Regions from separate parts of the Homo sapiens genome. Here region 2 is linked to region 1. Evidence: promoter capture Hi-C in human tissues and cell types (Jung and others, 2019). All regions are on one chromosome and are shown on one strand. Each heading gives the region's core, a stretch centred on a gene start or on the middle of the fragment in contact. The rest is flanking DNA. Distances are from core to core; before and after follow the strand shown.

Evidence for each region. The method cuts DNA at HindIII sites, captures the fragments that hold promoters and counts their contacts. A contact is called where the count stands out against the background at its distance.
Region 2: a contact is called between a fragment that was not itself captured here and the fragment with the promoter of SLC5A4 in region 1, in 2 of the 25 tissues and cell types used here (IMR-90 fibroblasts and lymphoblastoid cells).

Annotation. Positions count from the first base shown.
Region 1 is chr22:32,253,906-32,256,742 of GRCh38, forward strand. SLC5A4 (solute carrier family 5 member 4) reads right to left here and starts at 1,442. Exons shown (of 15, transcript NM_014227.3): 1 at 1,290-1,442; 2 at 237-308. The coding sequence starts at 1,424. The region is part of intron 2 of SLC5A4-AS1 (SLC5A4 antisense RNA 1); the gene reads left to right. The HindIII fragment of the contact is 10,747 bases long and covers 1-2,837 here.
Region 2 is chr22:32,289,861-32,292,697 of GRCh38, forward strand. It overlaps a transcript of SLC5A4 not described here. Among named protein-coding and RNA genes, the nearest start is that of SLC5A4, 36 kb to the left of the region's middle. The HindIII fragment of the contact is 6,132 bases long and covers 1-2,837 here.

The DNA of each region.
Region 1 (2,837 bases), core at 192-2,691:
GAGTAGCTGGGATTACAGGCATACACACCACCACGTCCAGCTAATTTTTGTATTTTTAGTAGAGATGGTTTCACCATGTTAGTCAGGCTGGTCTCGAACTCCTGACCTCAGATGATCTGCCAGCCTTGGCCTCCCAAAGTGCTGGGATTACAGGCGTGAGACACCGCACCCAGCCTACATTCAGTTTTAAGCACACACACAGGAAATTTATCTCCAGAAAACTTCGATCCACTTACCGGCCACCAGGCCATATCACGACCAGCGAGGAAGAAGCCTCCTATAGTACCTCGGTTGGTCTTCAGCATCGCCTGAGCAGAAGGGAAGACAGGTGAGGGTCAAGCCCCAGCAAGTGCACCCAGACACCCCAGAGGCTCTGGCCAGGGTGCTGAGAGGGGTGACTTCAGCACTCCTACAGAGAGAAACATTTCGCTGGAAAGTGTTCTATAGCATCAAATTTTAAAGGACTTCAAAAACAGTCGCTTTGTAAAAACCCAGGGCTGGAAGAACTTAAAAAAATCATAATCCTTAACTTCTATCTTAACTGCTCTGATTATTCTCACTTATGAAAACCATGTGAGGTATCATTGAGCCATGCTTGCAATAAAATTTGCAGTCTCGGCCGGGCACGGTGGCTCACGCCTGTAATTCCAGCACTTTGGAGGGCCGAGGCGGGTGGATCACAAGGTCAAGAGATCGAGACCATCCTGGCCAACATGGTGAAACCCCGTCTCTACTAAAAATACAAAAAGTTAGCCGGGCGTGGTGGCGCATGCCTGTAGTCCCAGCTACTTGGGAGGCTGAGGCAGGAGAATGGCGTGAACCCAGGAGGCGGAGCTTGCAGTGAGCCAAGCAAGCGCCACTGCACTCCAGCCTGGACGACAGAGCAAGACTCCGTCTCAAAAAAAAAAAAAATTTGCAGTCTCAAATTTATTAAAATAAAAAAATTCAACATAAATGAAGAGTCCAACTCACTAAATCAGAAAGTGAGCAAACAACAAAAGAAAGCGAAAGAAATGCGATAATAAAAATACACTCTTTGTCCATTATGCCAGGTGTTGGGGATGCATAGTAAATCTGAAGGTCCCGGTGCTGGCTGTGTGCACACGATGGGGTTATTAGGAGAATACATTAGTTCATTGTAAGCGTTATTTATGCAACACACAAGAAAATGATTCTGATAACACAATGACATTTGTGAAAAGCTTTGTCACAACCACACCCCTTCCCCCCTTAAGATACCCCCTCCTAAACCTTGTGCCCACCCTAAAAGCCACTGGGATTCCACCTACCCACAGCCCAACAGCCATCACCACCAGAAAATAGATGACAATGACTGAGATGTCAGCAGCATTTCGGATGTGGTCAGACAATGGAGGTGGCTCTGGGGTCTCAGCTATGGTGCTGGGGCTAACCGTACTGGCCATGGCTGCAGGCAGTGCTATACCCATTCCACGCATGAGCCATCTTTATATAAGTTCTGGGTTAATGATCAGCCTCAGGCAGGTGGGGCGAGATATCAGAGCCAGCTCCTGGATATGGAGACCTTTAAACCTCTTCTCCAAAGCTGTGGCACCCCAGCCCTCCACCAGTGAGTGCTAGCCTAGGTAGAGTGTGAGAATGAGGGATGCAGGGCCAGAAATGAGGGGAGAATTTGAGGTGGAGCATGGGGCGTTCTCTGAGTGCAAAGACAGGGTCTTTAAAGAGATTTGCCCAGGTGGAGGGGGGATTTGAGAGAAATGAAGACAGACAAGGAGGGGAGAAGGACAGACTAGAAGGTACCAGAAACCAGCCAGGAGGGACCGAATGCAATGGTCCTTCAGAGAACAGATACAGTTTCTGACCAATGAGCTATATCCCTTGACAGTGAAGTGAATTATGCCTTTCGTGGATTCCAAAGTCCCACATTTCTCTGAAGTGGGTTTCATGTGCCACAAAAAGACATTGGTGGCCTGTATAGGAAAGGAAGTGGCTCTTCAAGCACCATATGTGGTGAGTTGAGGGCAGAGCTGTGGAGAGCGCTGGGTCAGAGGGTTGTACAAAGAGTGAATCAACCTGGAAGCATGTGATGGGGATCATGAGGACTCAGGAAACAAGACTCCTGGACTACAGCCAAGAAGAAGTTAGAAGTAAAGCCTATGCGGTGGCTGACACCTGTAATCCCAGCACTTTGGGAGGCCAAGGAGAGAGCATCACTTGAGGCCAGGAGTTCAAGACCAGCTTGGGCAACATAGGGAGTCTTTGTCTCTATAAAAATTAGCTGAGTGTGGTGATGCACACGTATGGTCCCAGCTACTTGGGAGGCTGAAGAGGGAGGATCACCTGTGACTGGGAGGTCAAAGCTATAGTGAGCCATGATCACGCCGCTGCACTCTAGCCTGGGCAACTGAGCAAGATCCTGTCTCAAAAACAAACAAAAAAAACAACAACAAAAAAACAAAACCAAAAACACACATGAAAAAACGGAAAGCCCAGAAATTCTTCTTTTATACTTCATTTTTTATTGTGGCAAAGCATACATAGCATAAAATTTACCATTTTAATCCCTTTTAAGTGTACAATTCATTGGCATTAAGTACATTTACAGTGTTATGCAGCCATTACCACTATCCATTTCCAGAACTTTTTCATCATCTCCAAACAGAAGTATGTACCCACTAAAAACTAACTCCCCATCCCTCCCTCTCTCCAGGCCCTGGTAACCTCTGTTATTCTTTCTTACTATATAAATTTGCCTATTCTAGGTACCTCATACAAATGAAATCATACAATATTTTCCTCTTTGGTTTATTTCACTTAGTATGACATTTTCAAGGTTCATCCATATTGTAGCATGTATC
Region 2 (2,837 bases), core at 164-2,663, 36 kb after region 1:
ATGAGTGAGACTTACTTTGTCAGGTTTTAGTATCAGGGTAATTCTAGTCTCAAAAATGAATTGAGGCCATTTTATGCTCTTTAATATTCATTTTCTATTGCTTTTCTATTCTCTGGAAGAGCTTGTGTATGATTGGCGTGGTTTCTAGAAGAGCTTATGATTGGCATGATCTCTTCCTTAAATGTTTGGTTGAATTTGTAGGGCCTGGGTTTTTCTTTTTTTCTTTTTACTTTTATTTTACTTTAAGTTCTGGGATGCATGTACAGAATGTGCAGGTTTGTGACATAAGTACACATGTGCCGTGGTGGTTTGCTGCACCTATCAACCCGTCATCTAGGTTTTAAGCCCTGCATGCATTAGGTGTTTGTCCTAATGCTCTCCCTCCCCTTGCCCCCATCCCCTGACAGGCCCCGGTGTGTGATGTTCCCCTCCCTGTGTCCATGTGTTCTCACTGTTCAACTCCCATTTATGAGGACATGTGGTGTTTTCTCTTCCTGTGTTAGTTTGTTTGCTGAGAACGATGGTTTCCAGCTTCATCCTTGTCCCTGGGGTTTTCTTAGTGGGAAAGATTTGGTTATGGATTCAATTGATTTTATTACTACAGGACTCTTTAAATTTCTATTTTTCTAATATCAGCTTTGAAAACTTGTACTTTTTATTTTATATTTTCAAATGCTTTGGATATGATTTTTTCATAACAATTTCCTTTTTAGTCCTTTTGGGTTGCTGTGACAAAATACCTCAGACTCGGTAACTTACAAACAATAGAAATTTATTTCTCACAGTTCTGAATACTGGGAAGTCCAAGATCAGGGAACTGGCAGATGTGGGGTGTGCAGAAGACTCGCTCTCTGCCTCCAAGATCGCAGCTTGTTGCTGTGTCCTCTGAGGATGAATGCTGTGTCTTCACATGATAGAAGAGATGGAAAGGCAAAAAGGCCCAGAAAGTCCCCTCCAGCCCTTTTATAATGTCACTAATCCCATTCATGAGGGTTCCATCCTCAGGACTTAATCGCTTCCTAAGGGCCCCAACTCTTAATACTATCACATTGGGTCTTAGGTTTCAAAATATTAATTTTGGGGGAAAACATACATTTGAACCATTTCAGCCTCTTTTTTATGCTTGCTGGATGTGTAGTGGTGTCTTCTTTTTAATTTCTGATATTGGAATTTGTCTTCTTTCATTTTCATCATATGAGTTTTGCCAGGGATTTATCAATTTTATTTTTTTAAAGAGCTAGCATTTGGCTTTGCTGATCCTCTCTGTGTTATGTTTATTTTCTTTTTCTTTAGTTGTGTATTTATCTTCATTGTTCTCTTTTTATATACTTTGTGTTTGACTGTTCTTTTTTTTTTTTTTTGAGATGGAGTCTTTCTCTGTTACCCAGGCTGCCACCCTCCGCCTCCCGGGTTCAAGCGATTCTCTTGCCTCAGCCTCCCGAGTAGCTGGGATTACAGGCGTGCGCCACCATGCCTGGCCAATTTTTTGTATTTTTATAGTAGAGACGGGGTTTCACCGTATTGGTCAGGCTGGTCTTGAACTCCTGACCTCGTGATCCACCCACCTTGGCCTCCCAAAGTGCTGGGATTACAGGCGTGAGGCACTGCGCCGGGGTCAACTGTTCTATTTTTAATTTGTGAGAAGTATGGCTGACATTAGTTTTCAGTCAAACTTGTGTATCAACTTGGGGAAAATTGACACATTTACTGTGTTGTCTTCCAACTCATGAACATGGTACGTCTCTTCATTAATTTAGATGTTCTTTGATTTCTTTACCAAGATAGGCTCTTAAGCTTGAATTTTCTTTTAAGCACTTATTTATCTGAATCACCTAAGTTTTAATATGTAACAATTCCCTTATACTCAAATGTATTCTACTTTTCATTATGATTTATTCCTTGACCTTAGCCTATTTATATTTCTTGTTTTCCCAATGTATGGAAATTTTTATATTTTATATATATGTGTGTGTGTATATATATGTATGTATATATATAATTTATTTTTCTTTTCTATCTTTTTTTTTTTGGAGATGGAGTCTCATTCTGTCACTCAGGCTGGAGTGCAATGGCACAATCTTGGCTCACTGCAACCTTTGCCTCCCGGGTTCAAGTGATTCTCGTGCCTCAGTCTCCTGAGAAGCTGAGATTACAGGTGTGCACCACTACGCCCGGCTATTTTTTTATATTTTTAGTAGAGACGGGGTTTTAGTATATATATATAACATATATACTAGATATTATATATAATATATAATACATATACTAGATATTATATATTATATTCTATATATTATATATATAATATATACTAGATATTATATATAATACATACTAGATATTATATAATATATATATTATATTCTATATATTATATATATAATATATACTAGATATTATATATAATACATACTAGATATTATATATAATATATACTAGATATTATATATATTTTTCTAATATATATGGTATATGGAACTATAGGAATTTTCTAATCTGTACACACATATTTTCTAATATGTACATACTAGATATATATTTGTTTTTTTCTAGTGTATGTGTGTGTGTGTATATGCTAGAAAATCCCCATATGTTTGGAAAACAGCATTCATCCCCAGAGAACACAGCAACAGGGTGCTATCTTAGAGGCAGAGAGTGAGTCTTCCCCAGACCCCACATCTGCCAGTGCCTTGATCTTGGACTTCCCAGACTTCAGGACTGTGAGAAATATGGTAGAAAATTCCTATATATATATATTTTATAGAATTCTATCTTAATGGCATTGTGGTCAAATAAAGTCCTCTGAAGTTCACTGATACTTGCTTAATTATACAGTA